Linked DNA regions of Homo sapiens: regions 1, 2 and 3 are each linked to region 4. The links are contacts of gene promoters, found by promoter capture Hi-C in blood cells and fetal thymus (Javierre and others, 2016). All regions are on one chromosome and are shown on one strand. The core of a region is centred on a gene start or on the middle of the fragment in contact, and the rest is flanking DNA. Distances in the headings are between cores, read along the strand shown. Region 1 has its middle 8.4 kb from the start of MYL12BP2. Region 2 holds the start of LINC02362 (long intergenic non-protein coding RNA 2362). Region 3 has its middle 21 kb from the start of MIR4455. Region 4 holds the start of CASP3 (caspase 3).

Region 1 (3,531 bases), core at 650-3,149, 330 kb after region 4:
GAGAGATTAGGTTTTTATATTTAAGCAAAGCCACTTTATTCTTACTTTCTGAAATGAGAGAAAAGGGAAATGTAGATAGATTGATCATGGGCCAGTACATTGATAGCATGTATAATTAAGTTTTCCTAAAGTTGCAGTTATATTTTAGCCTGCTTTAGATGGCAGTTTTGCTTTCAAGATATTTAATTTTTTTTTATTAAAACCAAAAGCAAAGGCTTTAAGAAAACTAATTTCCCAGAATGTGTTTCTGTGATTCTGGAAGCTTTTCCTGGTGGGGCTGAGATCGGAAGCAGAGCCGTCAGGCCAGCAGAATGGGGGGGAGGGGCCGTGGAGATGGAGGAGATGGGCTTGTGAGTGCTCTGGGATGGAAAAGCCGTGGGAACACAGTCTAGTCTGTCCTTTCAGCCAAAGACCCCCAGGCGGAACTCTATGGCTCAAGGTGTTCCAAGTCGTCATTTATTTTCATATTTGTACTTTTTATTGTGATGAAATAGACATAAAATTTGCCATTTGAACCACTTTTAGGAGGCCGGTACACTGGCATTGATTACATTCACAATGCTGTGCAACCATTGCCACCATCTATTTCCAAAAATGTTTTCATTATTTTCATCATCCCAAACAGAAGCTCCATATCCAGTAAACAGCAGCTCTCTCTCCCCTCAGTCCCTGGTAACGTCTCTTCAACCTTCTGCCTCTATGAAGTTGCCAATTCTAGGTTCCTTGTATGAGCAGAATCATTCAGTGTTTCTTTTTTGGGTCTGGCTTCTTTCGCTTAGCAGCATGTTTCCAATCAATGTTCATCCATGTCGTAGCCTGTGTCAGAACTTCATTCCTTTTTTTGCTTGTTTGTTTTTTGTTTTTTGAGATGGAGTCTTGCTCTGTCACCAAGCTGGAGTGCAGTGATGCTATCTCGGCTCACTGCAACCTCGGCCTCCTGGGTTCAAGCGATTCTCCTGCCTCAGCCTCCTGAGTAGCTGGGACTACAGGTGCGTGCCACCACGCCCAGCTAAATTTTGTATTTTTAGTAGAGGTGGGGTTTCACCATGTTGGCCAGGATAGTCTCAATCTCTTGACCTCAGGATCCTCCCACCTCGGGCTCCCAAAGTGCTGGGATTACAGGTGTGAGCCACTGCGCCCAGCCCTTCATTCCTTTTTATGGCTGAATAATATCCCATTGTAGGGATACATTTGTTTATGCATTTCTTTCTTTCTTTTTTTTTTTTTTTGGTTAGACAGAGTCTCGCTCTATTGCCCAGGCTGGAGTGCAGTGGCATGATCTCAGCTCACTGCAACCTCCACCTCCCGGGTTCAAGCGATTCTCTTGCCTCAGCCTCCCAAGTAGCTGGGATTACAGGCACCTACCACCACACCTGGCTAATTTTTGTGTTTTTAGTAGAGACGGGGTTTCACCATGTTGGCCAGGCTGGTCTTGAACTCCTGACCTTGTGACTCACCTGTCTTGGCCTCCCAAAGTGCTGGGATTACAGGCATGAGCTGCCATGACTGGCCTGCATTTATTTTTTGATCCGACATTTTATTTGAGAAAATTGTCAGTGATTTATTTTAAAAAGAGCATTTTTTTTTTCCTGATGGGTGTTAAAGTGGATATTCCTTTCTGTTGAATAGGATGTGGTATACAGGTATTAGTGTGAGGCTGATGACTAAGAGCATGTGGCATTTCTGTGAGTGGCACAAGAGCCTAATAAAAATCAGTATCTACCCTGAAATTCTAAGTGAATTTACCTTGTGCCCAGGGCTTTAACTTTTCCCTAGATTCTGGAAAAGCATACTGTCCATGGCCTAAAGTTTGTGGGATGAGAAAGTTTTCACCTGGTGAAATGTTTGTAGGTGATTACATTTTGGGGGCATTGAATTTTTTTAAAATAAGAAATCTAAAATGTGATACATACACACCATGGAGCACTATACAGCCATAAAAAAGAAAGAGATTATGTCCTTTGCAGCAACATGGATGAAGCTGGAGACCATTATCCTACGTGAACCAACTAACACAGAAACAAAACCAGACACCACATATTCTCCCTTATAAGTGGGAGATAAACATTGAGTACACAAGGACTCAAAGAAGAGAACAGCAGACACCAGGGCCTTCTGGAGGGTGGAGGGAGAGAGGAGGGTGAGGATCGAAAAACTACCTGTCAGGTACTATTCTTATGACCTGGGCTGTGGAATAATCTGTACACCAAACTCCCATGACACGTAAGTTACCTACATAACAAACCTGCATATGCACCCCTGAACCTAAAATAAAAGTTAAAAGAAAGAAAAAAATCTAAAAATCTTGTTGACATATTAAATATTATGTGTGTGTGTGTGTGTGTGTGTATATATATATATATATATATATATAATTTTTTTTTAGACGCTGTCTCGCTCTGTCACCAGGCTGGAGTGCAATGGCATGATCTCGGCTCACTGCAACCTCCGCCTCTCGGGTTCAAATGATTCTCCTGCCTCAGCCTCCCAAGTAGCTGGGGCTACAGGTGTGCACCACCACGCCCAGCTAATTTTTGTATTTTTAGTAGTGACAGGGTTTCACCATATTGGCCAGGATGGTCTTGGTCTCTTGACCTTGTGATCCACCCACCTCGGCTTCCCAAAGTGCTGGGATTACAGGCATGAGCCACCGCACCTGGCCAAATGTTATACTTTTTAAAAAAAATAAAAACAAACAAACAAAAAACTAAAATCTACACAAATGATTACTTACTCCTTAAAAATCAGGTAGGACAGCCAGGTGCGGTGGCTCATGCCTGCAGTCCCAGCACTTTGGGAGGCCATGGTGGGTGTCTCACCTGAGGTCAGGAGTTTGAGACCAGCCTAGCCAACGTGGCAAAACCCTGTATCTTCTAAAAATACAAAAATTAGCCAAGTGTGGTGGCAGATGCCTGTAATCCCAGCTGACTATGGGAGGCTGAGGCAGGAGAATCGCTTGAACCTTGGAGGTGGAGGTTGTAGTGAGCTGAGATAGTGCCACTGCACTCCAGTCTGGGCGACAGAGTGAGACTCTGTCTCAAAAAAAAAAAAAAACAAAAGATCAGGTAAGGCGACTTGAAGTTTTAAAACATTTATGCAGAGGACATATTACAGAAGAGAACATGTACTTTTCCAGTTGCAGAATGTTTTCATCTGATTTTCTGGAAGCCCCATGACATAGCAGAGTTCTTTTCTTGCTTATCCCCCTGGTTTTGTTCCATCTTTTGCTACAGCCCTTCTCAACCTACTTCATCATTATGCATTAATTAATCCATATGGTAAGTTAATTAATAATTATCACTGATAGATTAATAAGTATATTAAAAAGAATTATTTCATAATAAAATAAACAATTCATGGTATTCATTAATAATTTAACAATTATGCTACAGGAAATTATTCAGTAATTAATACAAATTAAAATGGATTTCTTTTTGTCATATTTATTCATGATTCTCCAAAAGACCTCCCCCTAGATATTTCTGATTCACCACCAATTGGCTTTATTCTCTTGACACCATAAGAAACAAG
Region 2 (3,533 bases), core at 1-2,500, 270 kb after region 4:
TGGCTTCTGCCTCCATTCTGACTTCCAAATCTCTTGCAAATGCATATAATTGGTTGAACCTAATTCACAGTTAGAACCCCAGCTGCAAGTGAGACTGGAAAAATGGCTCTCAGAGTTCCCGCCTCTGCAGTAGAGGAAGACACTCCAGAAGGAGTTGAGAATGGGTGCTGAGTGCCTCTTCAGGATGTCTGTCACACCTCAGGAAACCTGCCAGGAATACCAAAGGGAGTGAAAAATCCAAGGTAAGAATATCCAGAGAATGAAATCTGCATCCCATACCTTCCAGAGTAGTTGGGAAAGCAACATATGTAGTGGGAAGAGAATACGTTTTTTGAAATCAGATAAACCTGGGTTCAGTCTGCTCTTATTTGCTGACGACTTTGGGCACATCTCTTTGTATCTATGAGAAAAAGTTTCTCAACATATAAAATGGGGGTATTGACACCTTACTTGCAAGGTGAGAATTAGATAAGATAATGTAAAGTATGAAGTACATTGCAAGCACTCAGTTATATCAGCCACACCATCTGCATATAAAATAGCTAAGATCCATATTTTGGAGCACTGATTCCAAAGTACCCATCTTCTCCCAGACTTCCATGAATTCAAGATTTGACCACTGAGGCTGTCAGAGCTCAGACATGTGACCCCAGTTTCTATATAGCTAAAATTAGTCTTTCCTTCTCTGAGCTATCCCTTTTTTGAGCAAGCCTCATTCTGTTGTCAAGTGGCATAAAAGGAGCTGAGAATTTATTCCTTTCTGGTAGAAGTTGAAGGGGATATAAACCTGCTGGCAGTTAATTCAATTTGATTTTTGTTTTTTAAGACAGGGTCTTGTTCTGTCACCCAGGCTGGAGTGCAGGCTCACTGCAACCTCTGCCTCCTGGGCTCAAGCCATCCTCCCACCTCAGCCTCCTGAGTAGTAGCTGGGAATACAGGTGCATGCCACCATGCCCAGCTAATTTTTTTGTATGTTTTTTGTAGAGACAGAGTTTCACCATGTTGCCCAGGCTTATCTCAAACTCCCGAGCTCAAGTGATCCACCCGCCTCAGCCTCACAAAGTGCTGGGATTATAGGTGTGAGCCACCGTGGCTGGCCAATTTTGTTTTTTAAACAACATAGATTCAAACAAACTTTTTAAGCTTTATAAAGCCACCCAGTAGAATTACATTAACTTTTGATTATTGAAGTGATTCTAATTTGCTTCATTCTGGCCGTTGATACAGTTTCCCTTGTGGACCAGTTTGCATTATAATTCCCACTAGATCCTGGGATTCATGACATTTTGACTCAGCAATTTTGAAATTGGGAATATTTCAACATATTCATAAAACAGAGCCACAAACGTTAAGCTTTTGTGCTTTCTTGGTATCTTTCTACCCTATGCTAGAATCTCACACTCAGGACAGGATGAGGGAGCTTACATGGCAGGTGCTTTGTCAGAACCTAACCTGTGCCAGGCATGAGGGCAGGGCCAGGCCTTCTGTGTTATGTTTGCATAAACAGATTAACGTAGGGGCTGAGGAGGCTCCTGGGAAAAGAGCTAGAAGAGCTTGCAGAGAAGGGATCCCAGGAAAAGAATCTAGCCTGAGGATGGGGCCAATTAGGCTCTGAAGGTGGTAGGAGGTGTTCTTGGTACAGTGTCTTGACGGCTGCCTGAACCCGTGAAGACACCTGCCTGCTTCAAGGGGTGTGTGTACCTTGAAGAGAGAATGGCTGGGAGTGTAAAACTGCCACTTCAGGTCCCAGTCACCCCTTGTATTAGCCCGTTTTCATACTACTATAAAGAAATACCCAAGACTGGGTAATTTATAAAGGAAAGAGGTTTAATTGACTCATAGTTCCACATGGCTGGGGAGGCCTCAGGAAACTTACAATCATGGCAAAAGAGGAAGCAGGCATGTCTTACATGGCGGCAGGTGAGAGAAACCCGTGAAGGCAGAACTGTCAAACACTTACAAAACCATTAGATCTTGTGAGAACTCACTCATTATCTCGAGAACAACATGCAGAAACCACCCCGATGATCTAATCACCTCCCACCAGGTCCCTTCCTCAACAGTGGGGATTATGGGGATTACAATATGAGATGAGATTTGGGTGGAGACACAGAGCCAAACCATATCACCTATATTAAGCAGAGTTTTCCCTAGCTATTTCTTAGTGGCCTGAGCCTGGGTGACAGATCAAGTAGAAGATGAGAACTTCCCCAGTAATGACAGAGGCATATGGCCCGGTAAAAGTTCCTAGACATTCTGGAATAGGACTGCATCAGTAGATGCTATGGTCTGAATGTTTATGTCCCCTCGAAATTCATATATTGAAACACAATCTCCAATGCAATAGTATTAAGAGGTGGGGACTTTGAGAGATGATTAGGTCATGAGGACTCCGCCCTTATGAATGGGTTGATGCTCTTATTAAAAAGGCCTAAGGACGCTTGTTTGCCCCTTTCACCATGTGAGGACAGATAGAAGGTGCCATTTATGAGAAACAGGTCCTCCCCAGACACTGAATTTGCTTATGCCTTCATCTTGGACTTCCCAGCCACCAGAACTGTGAGAAATAAATTTCTATTGTTTATAAATTACCAAGTCTGAGGTATTTTGTTATAGCATCCCAAAGTGACTAAGACAGTAGGGAAAGCAGAAGCCTTAGCTAAGGAATGAAAATTGCCTAAAGGCAGAAAGGCAGTAGGTAGGCCGTTGGCCCAAGCAGTGGCAGCTCCAGGGCTAGGGATGGCAGAAGTGTACTTAGTGGATTGGCACACAAAAGCAGAGAACCCTGGATACTAAAGGTGGGAGGGACCTCAAAAATGGTAGTGGAGGCTGGGCACAGTGGCTCACACCTGTAATCCCAGCACTTTGAGAGGCCAAGGTGGGCAGATCACCTGAGGTCAGCAGTTTGAGACCAGCCTGGTCAACATGGTGAAACCCCGTCTCTACTAAAAATACAAAAATTAGCCGGGCATGCTGGCAGGTTCCTGCAATCCCAGCTACTTGGGAGGCTGAGGCAGAAGACTCACTTGAACCCAGCAGGCAAATGTTGCAGTGAGCCGAGATTGCGCCATTGCACTCCAGCCTGGGCAATAGAGTGAGACTCCATCTCAAAAGAAAAAAAAAAGGTAGCAACAGGGGGTGCTGCTATTGAATTCCTGAGGTTTCATAGGCTGGGGTCTCAAGGTTAGGACTTGAATGTTTAGGACAGCTCATGTAGTAGTAATATGACATCATGTGTACCTACAGGTTGGGAAGCCCTGGGACATTGAAGTTACAACTGGACGATAAAAACAGAGTTTTTTCCTTGTGACGTGACCACTGTGATGTAAAGCTGTATCTCCTTCATTTCATCAAGAAATTCTTAAAATTCTCCCCCAACGTGCTTTCATCTTTCCCTTCATTGCCAACTCTGTAAGAAGTACCACGCCTTTTCTTTGAATCTGATTCTCCTCCAAGAAGCAATGCTTCTCTGAGGCTTTCACCTTTGCTCACATCAAAGCCCCCACACTGAATAAATACCATCCTTACATGCC
Region 3 (3,339 bases), core at 734-3,233, 310 kb before region 4:
AAGCGCGGCATGCAGAGCCTGGAGATTTTCTTTGTGGCTGGAGGGCTGCCATTTCAAAGTCGCCAGCAGTTTCTGCACTGGAGGTCGAAGCTCTTAATGCCCTAGAAAGGCTTCTTTTGTTTTGAGAAAATGAACCAGGCGGGGTCTTTGGGAGCCATGAACTCGAGGCATGTTCATTATTCTCCTGGGGCCCCCTGCACGCCCTGAGTGCATTTGAGAGTGCCCGCTGAACTGCACCCTGCAGAGTTCGGAGAAATATTTTGTTCTTCTCCCCACATGCAGACTTGGCCTGAGCAGGAAACTGTTGTTGCTCTTGGGAAATGTTTGTGTGCCTTTTGGTCTAAGCTTGCTCACAGGAGGCCTGCAGCCAATGCTGGACTCTGCCCCCAGATCTGGCCTCTATCTCGCCTCACACTGGAGAGAGATGGTGACAAGAACAGTCCAGATGCAGCATGGTGCAACCTGGACTGATTTGCTAAAATTGTGATAAAATGTGCATAAGATAAAAGTCCCCATTGTATTCATTTTTAAGTGTGCAGTTCTGTGGCCTGATACACACTCACATTTTTGTACAGCCATCACCGTGCCCTAGCTCCAAAACTTTTTCATCCAACCAACTGAAGCTTCCTCTGTACCTGCTAAACCCTAATTCCCCCTCCCCTTCCCGCCAGGCCCTGACAACCACCAATCTATGTCTTGTCTCTATGAATGTGACTACTCCATGTACCTCCTAGAATTGGAGCTGACAGCGTTTGTCCTCCTGGACGGATTCCTTTTTCTTTTTGTAGAAACAGGGTCTTCCTACGTTGCCCAGGCGGGTCTCGAATTACTGGCTCCAATGATCCTCCCGCCTTGGCCTACCAAAGTGCTGGGATGACAGGCGCGAGCCACTGCACCTGGCCTGGACGGATTCTTATTGGCATCTGAGACGGAATGGACTGGGCTTTGTGAAATTCATCATCAGTTACTCTATTGACTGGCACCGGCCGGCAGAGACCAGAACCTGTGGGTCGGAGTGGCTGTTTCCTTCTGAACAAATAGATGCTTCCACTGTTAGTCATCCTGAAAAGAGTTTAATCCCAGAGTACAAAAAGAAGTGGACTGAGACTGGGGAAAGTAAGGCTTTCCTCTCTGCAGCTTGCTTGGCCTTCATTCCAAGGTGTGGAGCTACCTGGGGATTCTTCCTGGTGGGGTGTGGGTGGTGGCGCCTGTGTCCATGGAGGGAAGCCTGCTGCGGGCAGTACAGCAATTGTGAGGGCAGCCAAGCCCTTTTAGTGCAGGCATCTCTTACGCTCTGTGTGGTCCTCCAGCTAGCCCCAAGGCTCAGCACCACGTGCTTACATCAGCTCATCATCTCAGCCAAGCTGCAGGGATGGGAGAGGTGGATGTCCTGGCCACCAGGCTGCAGGTGGGAGGCAGTGGGGGGCATCAGCTGGGCCCCACCGGGCAGACCTGTCATGAAGGTACAGAGGCCGGAGACAACACAGATAAAAAAGTGAAGCCAAGCGAGATGTCCCAGAGTACCGTGGGCAGCGTGCTGGAGCATTCACGGAAGTTCCAGCAAGCAGCCTGGTGTGAGCTCACGACATCATCACTTCCATCTGAAAAGAGAAGGATAATTTACTTTTTAGACACAGGCTTGTGTCTAAAGAGGCCAGAGACACTGAGTTAAACACATCTGACTTAATATCATAATCTTTCAAATTATTTTCCATGAACTAAAGTGATGCTCAAGGAAGACCATCCCTGCAACCCGCCTCTACTCACCGCTGCCCCAGCACCCTGGCTGGAGACACAGAGCCCTGGGTTCATTCCAAAATGCAATGACAATTTGCTTTCACACTCAAAATATGGGAAAGACTTTAGAGTGTGCGGTAGTTCCCGTTTCTGTGTAGCTTACATCAGGGCGGGTATCTCCGGGGCCCTATTCAACGTCGTGCTCAAGCAACCCCAAGCAGTATTCAGGAGCCACTTGGAAGGAGCTGCAAGGTTTAAGCAGTTAATGAACATTCAAATCATATAGTAGAAAATAAAACCTCGAACACGGGGTTTTAGTATCTATGGAATCTGATGGGTTTGAAGATAAAGTGCCCACAGAGAAGCCACAGCTTCAAGATTCTTCGTGGTATAGTTATTCAGGGAGCTTGCCAATTGTGAGCTGCAAAATCATAACATTAATACTTAATAATAGGCTTATTCCTGTTACTCTTTATTATCCCAATCATGTTCCCAGCTATTATCTCCTTTCTCCCCTTATACCATCCCTGGGGAGAGGCTGACATAAATTATTATCCCTCCTTTAAGGGGGAAGGCATTAAAGCACAGAGAGATTAAATGACATGCCTGAGGCTCTAAAATTAGTGTGCAGCACAGGCGAGGTGAGAGCTTGTGTGTCTGTTTCCCCCAGTGTTCCTCTGCTTCTCTGGCTAGCTCTGGGTATCCAACCTCTCTAGGTCCAAACATCTCAGCCACCCTCATAAATAGCCATGAAGTCTTGGGAAAGCCTGCTGCTCTGCACCCGGGCCTGTTTCCACCTCACATTAACATGCCTTTAGAGCAATGTCTAGGAGCCACCTCTTCTCAGAGGCTTCCCTACCCACCTCCTGCTGAGATGGTCGCCACCTCTGGCAACCTTCAGCCACACCTGGAATTAGCCCCACACCAACAGCGCGGGGCATGTAATTACACGCTTTCTAGAATTATGTGCTCATGGCTTGCCAACTAAAGGGTGAGCTTTCTGAGGGTTGGCCTCCAGCTGCATCCCATGCGTCTTCTTTGGTGTCCTTCAAGGCCTCTGGAAGCAAGTTGGGCAGCACGGGGGCCTAATAAACTTGCTCAGTGATGTGTTGGGTGCTGTAGGACATGAGTGATGGGCAAGATGGATTCTCTGTGAAAGCTCTGCTGCTTGTTCCAGTCCCTCTCCGTCCTCCGCTCCATTTCATTCCGCACACATAGCTATCACTACCACTGTGCTATGCATCTGTCTGTCTGCACATTTACGGCTGTCTCTCCCACTGCAGTGTCAGCTCCAGGGGAGCAAGGCCCTTCTTGCTTCTCCAGATCCTCACACACATAGCAGCCGCTTGTTCCATCGGGATGTGTATCCCTCCAAGTCTCATGATGTGATCCCCAGTGTTGGAGGTGGGGCCTAGTGGGAGGTGTTTGCGTCATAGGGGCTGATCTCTCTTGAATGGCTTGGTGCTATCCTGGCAAGAGCGAGTGAATTCGTGTGAGATCTAGTTGTTTAAAGAGTGCGGCACCTCCAGCTTCTCTCTCACTCTGCTTTCACCATAGGATGCACCTGCTCCCCCTTCCCCTTCTCCCTCAATTGCTTGTAAG
Region 4 (3,114 bases), core at 521-3,020:
CGGGTTCAAGCGATTCTCCTGCCTCAGCCTCTCAAGTAGCTGGGATTACAGGTGCCCACCACTGCACCCGGCTAATTTTTTTTGTATTTTTAGTAAAGACAGGGTTTCACCATCTTGACCAGGCTGGTCTCGAACTCCTGACCTCGTGATCCACCTGCCTCGGCCTCCCAAAGTCCTGGGATTACAGGCATGAGCCACCGCGCCGGGACTTAACCTCTTTAAACTCGGCCTTAACCTCTTTAAACCTTATCCTCTTTAAATTGGAATTCCTATCCCGAGGGATTGTTGAAAGGCTGAAACAAACAAATGTATTATGAAAATGTAAAAGCATGCAATAAACTCAGCAAGGGGTAACCATATATAAAACTAAGTATATTTCTGTGCAGAATATAGTCCCTATAGTCGAATAGGCGCAAGTGTTAGAAACAGGCTCTGCCATGGGGTCCCTGAATCTGACTTCTGAATGTCAAGAACTTTTTGAAATCTGATGCAGAATGTCGTGCTCACATGTGTTGGTGAATTCTTCTGCGAAAATGATTCACAGTTTGCTTCAGGGTCTGAAATGAGTTCACGACCCAAAATAGGAAGGGGATCGGTAGGGCAGTGTATATAGCACACCATTGACGTAACCATTAATAACTCCATCTTAGGAGAAGACCCCATTTTTACATTTCATAAGGCATTTGCCAACAAGCATACTATACTTTAATAAACAAATAAAAAAATAGTCCGCATCCAGCCAGGTAAGGACACAAACAAGCACTCTCTTCCATTACCAGTTCTCACCACAGGACTCTGTGACTATAAAAGATGGGGCCTTCGGCAGCTCCCAACAGCCGGCTTAATTGACGCCGTCTTTGCAGAAGGACCTCTCGGCCCAAACCAGGCTTCTTTTCCTCTTCTTCACTCCCTCTGGATTGGTTCGTTAATCTCTTTGCCCCATCTCTTTTTCCTCATGATGTTAAATGCTACTTTGTTGTGGGATGCTTAACTTGTAACATTTATATGTGGATTAAGTACACTACTATGATGCGTGAGCGGCTTGAGCCTGTGTGTCAGGCTCTGACTACCCAGTGACCAGCAAGTGCTGAGAACTGCCTCCTTGGGAACTCCACGCAGCTCGTGGCTTTTGTGATCGAAAGAGCGTCCACAGCAGCCTGACATGGTGGAAAACACAGCATGCGTGGACCTGGTTATTTCTAGCCTGGCACCCTGATGACAGGAGGTTAAGGCTTTTGATTTAGGGAGAGAGACCTGAGGGTAACCCAAAGAAAGGCCTCAGGTCATCGCAGAGGAGACAGAAATTACCGGTGGGCGTCCCGGCCTGCTCCTCTTCTTCCCAGAGCTCAAACTGGGCAGCAGGCCTGGCTTTGTCTCCCTTCTAGGTACCCGTTGGGCCTGGCGCGGTTTCCAAGTCTCCCTCAATTTCCCTCCAGAATCCCGCGCTGGGAGCGGAAGCCCGCGGACTCTCAGGAAGACCTAGATTTCAAATCCGGGGCGGGGGAGCCGGGCCGAGCCTCAGGGCGGGACCAAAGCGGGAGGACTGGCGCGGGACGCGAGGGCGGGACCAGGGCGTGAGGACGCGGGGCGCGGGGGCGGGGCGCGCTGCGGTGGGCGGGCGCCTCCTGGGGCCCAGCCTGGGGCTGGGTTCTCGGGCGGGCGGGAGCTAGGGGACGGGCCGCAGCGGAGGCGGCGCGAGGGGCCGACAGGGGCGGGCGGGAGGCGGGGCTGGCGCTGGAGCACATCTCCCGGCGGCGGGCCGCGGAAGCAGTGCAGACGCGGCTCCTAGCGGATGGGTGCTATTGTGAGGCGGTTGTAGAAGGTATGAGGAGGCTGTGCGGTGACTGCCGCCCTCGCTCCGGGCCGTCAGCCCTGCCCCCGCTCCCTGCGTTCTCCCAGGCCCTGCGCCCGCCCGGGTACCTGCCCGGTCTGGAAGGCGGAGTGTTTGTTTTGCCACCTCGCCCGGGCGGGGGCGAGCAGTGAAGCCCGCGGAGCGAGAGACTTGGCCCGGAGGCGGGAGCCTGGGCCGGGGCCGGGGAAGCCAGGCAGCGGGTTAAGGCTTTTGATTTAGGGAGAGGGACCTGGGGGTAACCTAAGGAAAGGCCTCAGGTCATCGGAGGGGAGACCTGGCCCGGGGGCGGGAGGCTGGGCTGGGACCGGGGAGGCCGGGCAGCGCGAGGCCGGGCCGGGGAGGCCAGGCAGCGGGAGGCCTGGCCAGGGGAACCGAGCCCGGGGCCGGGAGGTCGGGCACGGGGCACCGAGCTCCGAGGGCGGGAGACCTGGCGGCCGGCCGAGTGCCGGAAGGCCGGGTCAGGCGGCGGAAGGCAGCGGCAAGCTGGGAAACGGACGGCGCTACCGCCGGCGGAGGAGTGGCCCCGGGAAGCGGTGCTGCGAGGGCTGGGGCGGCCGGGTGCTGACTGTGAGATACTCGCCCTGGGGGCTGATCCTTCCAATTTTGGACGAGGCTTCCGTCTCTGCTGCCTTCCATGCCTGGGGCCTGGATTATCCCGGGTTGACAATGTGGTTTAGCTCTTCCAGAGAGATAGTTGCAGGGTTTAAACTCCAATTCCTTTTCGGCCCTGCAGAGTTTCGTGAGTGCTCGCAGCTCATACCTGTGGCTGTGTATCCGTGGCCACAGCTGGTTGGCGTCGCCTTGAAATCCCAGGCCGTGAGGAGTTAGCGAGCCCTGCTCACACTCGGCGCTCTGGTTTTCGGTGGGTGTGCCCTGCACCTGCCTCTTCCCCCATTCTCAGTAAGTGGCACCCAAGCAGGAAACCGGAAAACATCGTTCGCAGCCCCCTCTCGCCCACCCACTTCTTTTCCTGCTTAGTCGCCAAGCCTTGTCGACCTTGTAAATGTCTGCCAGATCTGTCCGCGTCTCTCTATCTCTGATTTCAGCCGTCTGACCACAGCAGCCTCTTCCCTGGTCTCTCCACTTCCAGACCCGCCTGCTCCTTTGCAGTCCACTTTTTACAGCACAGGCAGAGGGATCTTTATGAAATGAAAGTCTAGAAAGCTCGTCCTTTGCCCTTAGGTTAAACCCAGCACTTAATATGGCTAACAAACCCCTGCGTGTGTTGGGTCCTGAGTGCCCCCACCCCTCCTTATCTTTAG

The links. Contacts are between HindIII fragments. The CHiCAGO score rates a contact against its expected background, and 5 or more counts as called.
Region 1: a fragment that was not itself captured here is called in contact with the fragment with the promoter of CASP3 in region 4 in 2 of 17 cell types (naive B cells and neutrophils); the score reaches 6.0 in naive B cells.
Region 2: a contact is called between a fragment that was not itself captured here and the fragment with the promoter of CASP3 in region 4, in 1 of 17 cell types (activated CD4 T cells). The highest score is 5.1, in activated CD4 T cells.
Region 3: a fragment that was not itself captured here is called in contact with the fragment with the promoter of CASP3 in region 4 in 1 of 17 cell types (neutrophils); the score reaches 5.6 in neutrophils.

What each region holds. Positions count from the first base shown.
Region 1 is chr4:184,320,942-184,324,472 of GRCh38, reverse strand. No RefSeq gene overlaps it. Among named protein-coding and RNA genes, the nearest start is that of MYL12BP2, 8.4 kb to the right of the region's middle. The HindIII fragment of the contact is 3,269 bases long and covers 265-3,531 here.
Region 2 is chr4:184,378,843-184,382,375 of GRCh38, reverse strand. It overlaps LINC02362 (long intergenic non-protein coding RNA 2362), which reads left to right and starts at 70. Exons shown (of 6, transcript NR_125934.1): 1 at 70-242. The HindIII fragment of the contact is 210 bases long and covers 1,146-1,355 here.
Region 3 is chr4:184,957,599-184,960,937 of GRCh38, reverse strand. No RefSeq gene overlaps it. Among named protein-coding and RNA genes, the nearest start is that of MIR4455, 21 kb to the right of the region's middle. RefSeq lists a silencer at 3,245-3,339. The HindIII fragment of the contact is 2,716 bases long and covers 626-3,339 here.
Region 4 is chr4:184,648,103-184,651,216 of GRCh38, reverse strand. CASP3 (caspase 3) reads left to right here and starts at 1,770. Exons shown (of 8, transcript NM_004346.4): 1 at 1,770-1,822; 2 at 2,586-2,752. It overlaps PRIMPOL (primase and DNA directed polymerase), which reads right to left and starts at 1,479. Exons shown (of 14, transcript NM_152683.4): 1 at 1,309-1,479. RefSeq lists silencers at 1,463-2,042, 2,053-2,262. The HindIII fragment of the contact is 9,772 bases long and covers 1-3,114 here.